2 separate regions of the Homo sapiens genome follow, and region 2 is linked to region 1. The links are contacts of gene promoters, found by promoter capture Hi-C in human tissues and cell types (Jung and others, 2019). All regions are on one chromosome and are shown on one strand. Each heading gives the region's core, a stretch centred on a gene start or on the middle of the fragment in contact. The rest is flanking DNA. Distances are from core to core; before and after follow the strand shown. Region 1 holds the start of MLNR (motilin receptor). Region 2 has its middle 91 kb from the start of CYSLTR2.

Region 1 (3,114 bases), core at 307-2,806:
ACAGTCTGCATGTGAGAGAGAACTGCAGGAGAAGCTTGCCCTAGGCAAAGCCAGGTGTCAGGTCCAGAATCGAGACTCCAGAGAAGAGGTTGAGGATTTAAGCCACTGAGGGGGTGGAGCTGGGCAGTGAGTAGGACGTCAGGCTTGCAAGCTCTGGGATTAGGCCGACCAGAGCCCATATCCCAGTCCCGCCTCTTACTGCCTGCTTGATCTCAAGCAAGACCGCTTTGTTCATGGGCGAAAGGAGCGCCCCGGGCCATGAGGATTAAATGGAGAGCACAGGGCCAGATCCATCTAAATTCTCAGTAAGTGTTAGCTATTGTTATTAAGACCACACCGAACAGACTGAACATCCGTTTTAGCCCCTTTCCCCAATTTTCGTTCTTTCCGGTGTTGACAAATCCTCTAGTTTTTTAAGTTTATAAAACATGTTGTACATAAGAATGACATATCACATGTGAAAGTACTCTAGTGTCCACGTAAATATTTGTCTTGTTCTTTATAATAAGTAAACATGCTCACGGATCCTTGAAATTATCTGGTCACTGCCGGGCGCGGTGGCTCACGCCTGTAATCCCAGCACTTTGGGAGGTCGAGGCGGGTGGACCACCTGGGGTCAGGAGTTCGAGACCAGGCTGGCCAACATGGCGAAACCCTGACTACACAAAAAACACAAAATTTAGCCGGGGCTTGGGCGCTCCTGTGCTCCCAGCTACTCAGGAGGCTGAGGTGGGAGGACTGCTTGAGCCTGGGAGGTCGAGGCTGCAGTGAGCTGTGATCGCGCCACTTAAACTCCAGCCTGGACGACAGTGAGACCCTGTCTCAAGAAGAAAAAAAGAAAGAAAGAAAGAAAAAAAGAAAAAAAAGAAATTATTTGGTCAATTATATGGTCAGCTCCCTCCACCACTCGCGAATTTACAGAAGAGGAGAACTGGGCTGGGCGAGACCAGGACTAGCCCAAGATTACACAAGTTACTCGGTTGTAGAGCCAGGATTAGACAGGAGAGGCTCTAGATTCTGGTCTAGACTCCCCTCCTATTATTTAGCATTATGGCTTCCTGAGGATTACCATGAGCCCTCCTCCACCGTCAAGCGGCAGCTACCAGCCACCAGACCAGATCCCTTCGAAGGTGCCCGGAGTACCAGACTGACAAAAGCGCCCGTACAGTGCTCAGTCCTGTAACCAAAGCTGTCTAGGGTGCAGACATCGCTCACCGGACCGGGTAGGGCTCGTGCGCTAAGGGCGCCGGGTATTCCAGTTAGTGGAGAGGGAAGCGCCCTGGAACTGCATGGGCCCGGGAGAGGGCGCGGGAGCGGAGCAGGGCCGGGCCGGGGCGGGCCGCGGCCGTGGGCGGAGACTGCGCGCAGCTAGCTCGGGAGCGCCTCGGAGCCCACCCCGCAGAGCCGCTTCTCGCGCCCCGCAGCGCAGCGCAGCGCTCCGCCGTCTGACCTGCCGCGCCCGCAGCGTGCGGGCTGGGAAAGGAGGCGCTCACCGAGAGGGACCACGCGCCAGGCTCCCAGCCCGACCCGGGACGCGGCGGCCGCGCGGAGCACCCATGGGCAGCCCCTGGAACGGCAGCGACGGCCCCGAGGGGGCGCGGGAGCCGCCGTGGCCCGCGCTGCCGCCTTGCGACGAGCGCCGCTGCTCGCCCTTTCCCCTGGGGGCGCTGGTGCCGGTGACCGCTGTGTGCCTGTGCCTGTTCGTCGTCGGGGTGAGCGGCAACGTGGTGACCGTGATGCTGATCGGGCGCTACCGGGACATGCGGACCACCACCAACTTGTACCTGGGCAGCATGGCCGTGTCCGACCTACTCATCCTGCTCGGGCTGCCGTTCGACCTGTACCGCCTCTGGCGCTCGCGGCCCTGGGTGTTCGGGCCGCTGCTCTGCCGCCTGTCCCTCTACGTGGGCGAGGGCTGCACCTACGCCACGCTGCTGCACATGACCGCGCTCAGCGTCGAGCGCTACCTGGCCATCTGCCGCCCGCTCCGCGCCCGCGTCTTGGTCACCCGGCGCCGCGTCCGCGCGCTCATCGCTGTGCTCTGGGCCGTGGCGCTGCTCTCTGCCGGTCCCTTCTTGTTCCTGGTGGGCGTCGAGCAGGACCCCGGCATCTCCGTAGTCCCGGGCCTCAATGGCACCGCGCGGATCGCCTCCTCGCCTCTCGCCTCGTCGCCGCCTCTCTGGCTCTCGCGGGCGCCACCGCCGTCCCCGCCGTCGGGGCCCGAGACCGCGGAGGCCGCGGCGCTGTTCAGCCGCGAATGCCGGCCGAGCCCCGCGCAGCTGGGCGCGCTGCGTGTCATGCTGTGGGTCACCACCGCCTACTTCTTCCTGCCCTTTCTGTGCCTCAGCATCCTCTACGGGCTCATCGGGCGGGAGCTGTGGAGCAGCCGGCGGCCGCTGCGAGGCCCGGCCGCCTCGGGGCGGGAGAGAGGCCACCGGCAGACCGTCCGCGTCCTGCGTAAGTGGAGCCGCCGTGGTTCCAAAGACGCCTGCCTGCAGTCCGCCCCGCCGGGGACCGCGCAAACGCTGGGTCCCCTTCCCCTGCTCGCCCAGCTCTGGGCGCCGCTTCCAGCTCCCTTTCCTATTTCGATTCCAGCCTCCACCCGCCGGTACTTCCCATCCCCCGAGAAAACCATGTCCTGTCCCCCAGGAGCTCTGGGGGACCCCAGGGCGCTTTGAGGGTGGGATCCCCGGATCCGATTCAGTAACCAGCAGTGCTTTTCCAGAGCCTCTGAGACCAGAAAGGAGAGTTGGTAATTCTTAATCCAACCACCTGTTAGATGCCACAGATGAGGAGTCCTCACAGTGCTCTTGAGAAGACGAGGGAGATTTCATTAAGCTAAAATTTTTTATTTAATGTTAAGTGATGCTGAAGGCTAAAGTAAACCTTGCTCGTATCAAAAAGTAAAGATTGTGCAGACCTGTTGTAGAATTCTTTTCAACAGAGAACAGAAAACTTGTCTCCGAAGTGGGTTTGTGGAAGGAAGCCTGCCAAGGCGGCTTGTTCAGAGAAATTGCTCCTTCTGGTTTATGTCCAGCCTTGATAACACATATGGGAGCCTACTATGCAGTTTTAAAGCAAGTATCCATGCAGCCTGCAGCCTGGTCATTTTTT
Region 2 (3,411 bases), core at 621-3,120, 480 kb before region 1:
GGTGTATAGTGATATTTAATTTGCATTTCCCTGATGGCTAATGATGTTGAACAAATTTTCATGTTCTTTTTTTGCCATCTGTATACCCTTTGGTGAGATGTCTATCTTTTGCCCATTTTCTAATTTGATCTTTGATATTTTTTATTGTTGAGCTTTGTGAGTCCTTTATATATTTTAGATATAACTCTTTTGTCAGATATTTGGTTTGAAAATACTTTCTTCCAGTCCAGATATTGTCTTTTCATCTTTTTAATAAAGTTCATTGTAGAGCAAAAGTTTTTCATTTTGATGATGTCCAACTTATTGATTTTCTTCCATAAATCATGGTTTTTCATATCACATTTAAGAACTTTTCACTAACCCTAGGTCCTGAAGATTTTCTCCTATGTTTTCTTTTGAATTTTTTATAACTTTGTGCTTTATATTTAAGTATATAAATTCATTCTGAGTTATTTTTTCATTTAAAAACGTGAGGTTTATTTTAAAGTTCTTTTTATTGGCCTATGGGTGTAACTACTTCAGTACCATTTGCTGAAAAGATTATTCTTCCTCCATTGAATTGCTTTTGGATCTGTCAAAAATCAGTTAATTTGTGCATCAAAAGACACTACTAACAGAATAAATAGGCAGCCTACATGATACAGTTTTGATGTTGTCCCCTCTAAATCTCATGTCTAATTATAATCCCCTGTTGGAGACGGGGATGGGTGTTTGGGTCATGGGGACAGATCCTTTATGGTTTGGAGGTGTCGTCAAGATAGCAAGCAATTATGAGATCTGGTTGTTTAAGTGTGTGGCACCTCCCCCCTCCCCACCTCTTGCTTCCACTCTCACCATGTGACTGTCTGCTCCCCCGTCACCTTCTGCCATGATTGTAAGCTTCCTGAAACCTCCCCAGAAGCTGACCAGTTGCCGATGTCATGCTTCCTGTACAGCCTGCAGAACTATGAGCCAATTAAACCTCTTTACCTTATAAATTACACAACCTCAGGTATTTCTTTATAGCAATACAAGAACGGCTTAATACACCACAGAATGGGAGAAAGCATTTGGAAATCACATAGCTTACAAGAGATAAAAATCCAGAATATATAGAGAACTCCTAAAACTCAGCAACAATAACACAGACTGATTCAAAACTGGGCAAAGGACTTGAATAGACATTTCACCAAAGTACATGTAAAAATGGTCAATATGAGATGCAAATCAAACTACAATAAGATACCACCTCACACACATTAGGATGACTCCTATCAAAAATATCAAAAATAGCAAGGATTGGTGAAGACGTGGAAAAATAGGAACACTTGTGCACTGTTTGTGGGAATATAAAATGGCACAGCCGCTGTGAAAAACAGTATAGTATTTCCTCAAAAAGTGAAAAATAGGATTGCCGTATGATCTAGCAATTCCACTTCTTGGTATATACCAAAAAGAACTGAAAGCAGGGTCTCAAAGAGGTATTTGTACACCCATTCTCATAGCAGCATTATTTACAGTAGCTAAAATGTTGAAGTAACCCAAATGTACATCAATGAATGAATGGAAAAGCAAAATGTGGTATACCCACATGCTATGGTTTGACTGTGCCCCCCAAAGTTCATGTGTTGGGAATTTAATCCCCAATGCAACGGTGTTGAAAGGTGGGACTTTTAAAGAGATGATTAGGTCATGAAGACTCTGCCAGCCATCATAAATAGATTTATGCTGTTATAATAAGGATTGGCGTATTGCAGGATTATCCAATAACCAATTGAGTAATCGCATGATCATCCAATTAGGGTTCCCAGGTAAAGTATGAGCCCTCTTTCCCTCACTCTCACTCTCTCTTGTTTTTCTGCCTTCTGTGATGGAATGACACAACACAAAGGCCTTCACCAAATGCCAGTGCCATGTTCTGGGACTTCCCAGCCTCCATAACTGTACGTCAAATAAATTTCAGTTCATTATAATTTACCTAGTCTGTGATATTTTGTGATAGTAGCATAAATTTGACTAAAACACTATCCAATGGAATATTGCCCTTTAAAAGGAAAGAAATTCTCCAATATGCTATAACATGGATGAACCTTATGTTCAGTGAAATAAGTCAGTCACAAAAATACAAGTACTATATGATTCAACTTATATGAAGGAATATGAGTAGTCAAAATCATAGAGACAGAAAGTAAAAGGGTGGATGCTACAGACTGAGGGGAGGGAGTTATTATTTAATAACTAATTATTATTAAATAATTATTAATTATTTAATGGGTATAGGGTTCCAGTTTTATACTATGAAAATAGTTATGGAGATGAATGGTGGTGATATTTGTACATTATGAATGTATTTAATACTGCTAAACTGTACATTTAAAAATGGTTTATATAGTAAATTTTATGTTATATGTACTTTACTTAGAACAATAAAAAATAAGTTGAGCATATTTATGCGAGTTTATTTCTTGAAGCTTTATTCTGTTCCATTGATCTATGTTTGTTTCTATTCCTTCACCTACACCACACTGTCAAGATTACTGTAGTGTACATGGTCTTAAAATAAAGTAGAGTGATTCCTTCCAATTTATTCTTTTTCAAAATTGTTTTAGCTATGCTAATTCATTTGTCTTTCCATATGAATTTTAGAATAAACTAGTCTATAACTATAAAAAAATTCTCACTGGGATTTTGATAGAAACTGCATTAAATCTATAAATCTGTACGGGGAAAACTGACATCTTTATTATGTTGAGTCTTCCAATCTGTGAATATGTAAGTCTTTCCATTTATTTAGAGCTTCTTTGATTTCTTTCATCAGCATTTTGTAGTTTTCAGTATACAAATCTTGTACACGTTTTACTTGAAAAATCGAATAAAGTAATTTTAAGTCATTGATATAGGTGATAAGTATAGAGATATATCTGTAACTTTTTAAATGGGACCAGGTACAAAAAACAAATGATTTGAAATGGATCTAGGTACCGAAAGCAATGCTGCACATTTTATCTTTCCCCCTGCCCCAGGGCAACAAGAAGGGAAACAAGTGAGAGCTGCCAAGGGTGAGGTTTGACAGCACAGGACTCTGGGCAGCCAGATACTCCACAGAGAAGGGAGCCCAGAAGAGGGTGAAGGGTCTGTGAAAGGGATGTAGCGGGGATATCCCAGATGGTCTTCCCCTACTTCATAGTATTGCCAAGGAACACCCAGGGCCAGTAACAGCTCAGGGGAGGAATAGAGGCTTGTGATCTCTTAAGCAGGAAACCCACAAATCCTTTAACCAAAAAGACCCTATATGAGATCCCAGTTTCCCACTCAACTATGGAAAGGTGATACACATAAATTTAAAATTATCCAACAACTTAGAAAGAAATTCAATCATAGAAAGTGTGCTCATCCCAATCTGTTCACCTATCACACCCACTGTGTTAATAT

Evidence for each region. Contacts are between HindIII fragments. The study calls those that stand out against the background at their distance.
Region 2: a contact is called between a fragment that was not itself captured here and the fragment with the promoter of MLNR in region 1, in 2 of the 25 tissues and cell types used here (IMR-90 fibroblasts and dorsolateral prefrontal cortex).

The regions. Positions count from the first base shown.
Region 1 is chr13:49,218,782-49,221,895 of GRCh38, forward strand. MLNR (motilin receptor) reads left to right here and starts at 1,557. Exons shown (of 2, transcript NM_001507.1): 1 at 1,557-2,457. The coding sequence starts at 1,557. RefSeq lists silencers at 987-1,243, 1,180-1,439, 1,510-1,589. The HindIII fragment of the contact is 10,157 bases long and covers 1-3,114 here.
Region 2 is chr13:48,742,767-48,746,177 of GRCh38, forward strand. No RefSeq gene overlaps it. Among named protein-coding and RNA genes, the nearest start is that of CYSLTR2, 91 kb to the left of the region's middle. The HindIII fragment of the contact is 6,090 bases long and covers 1-3,411 here.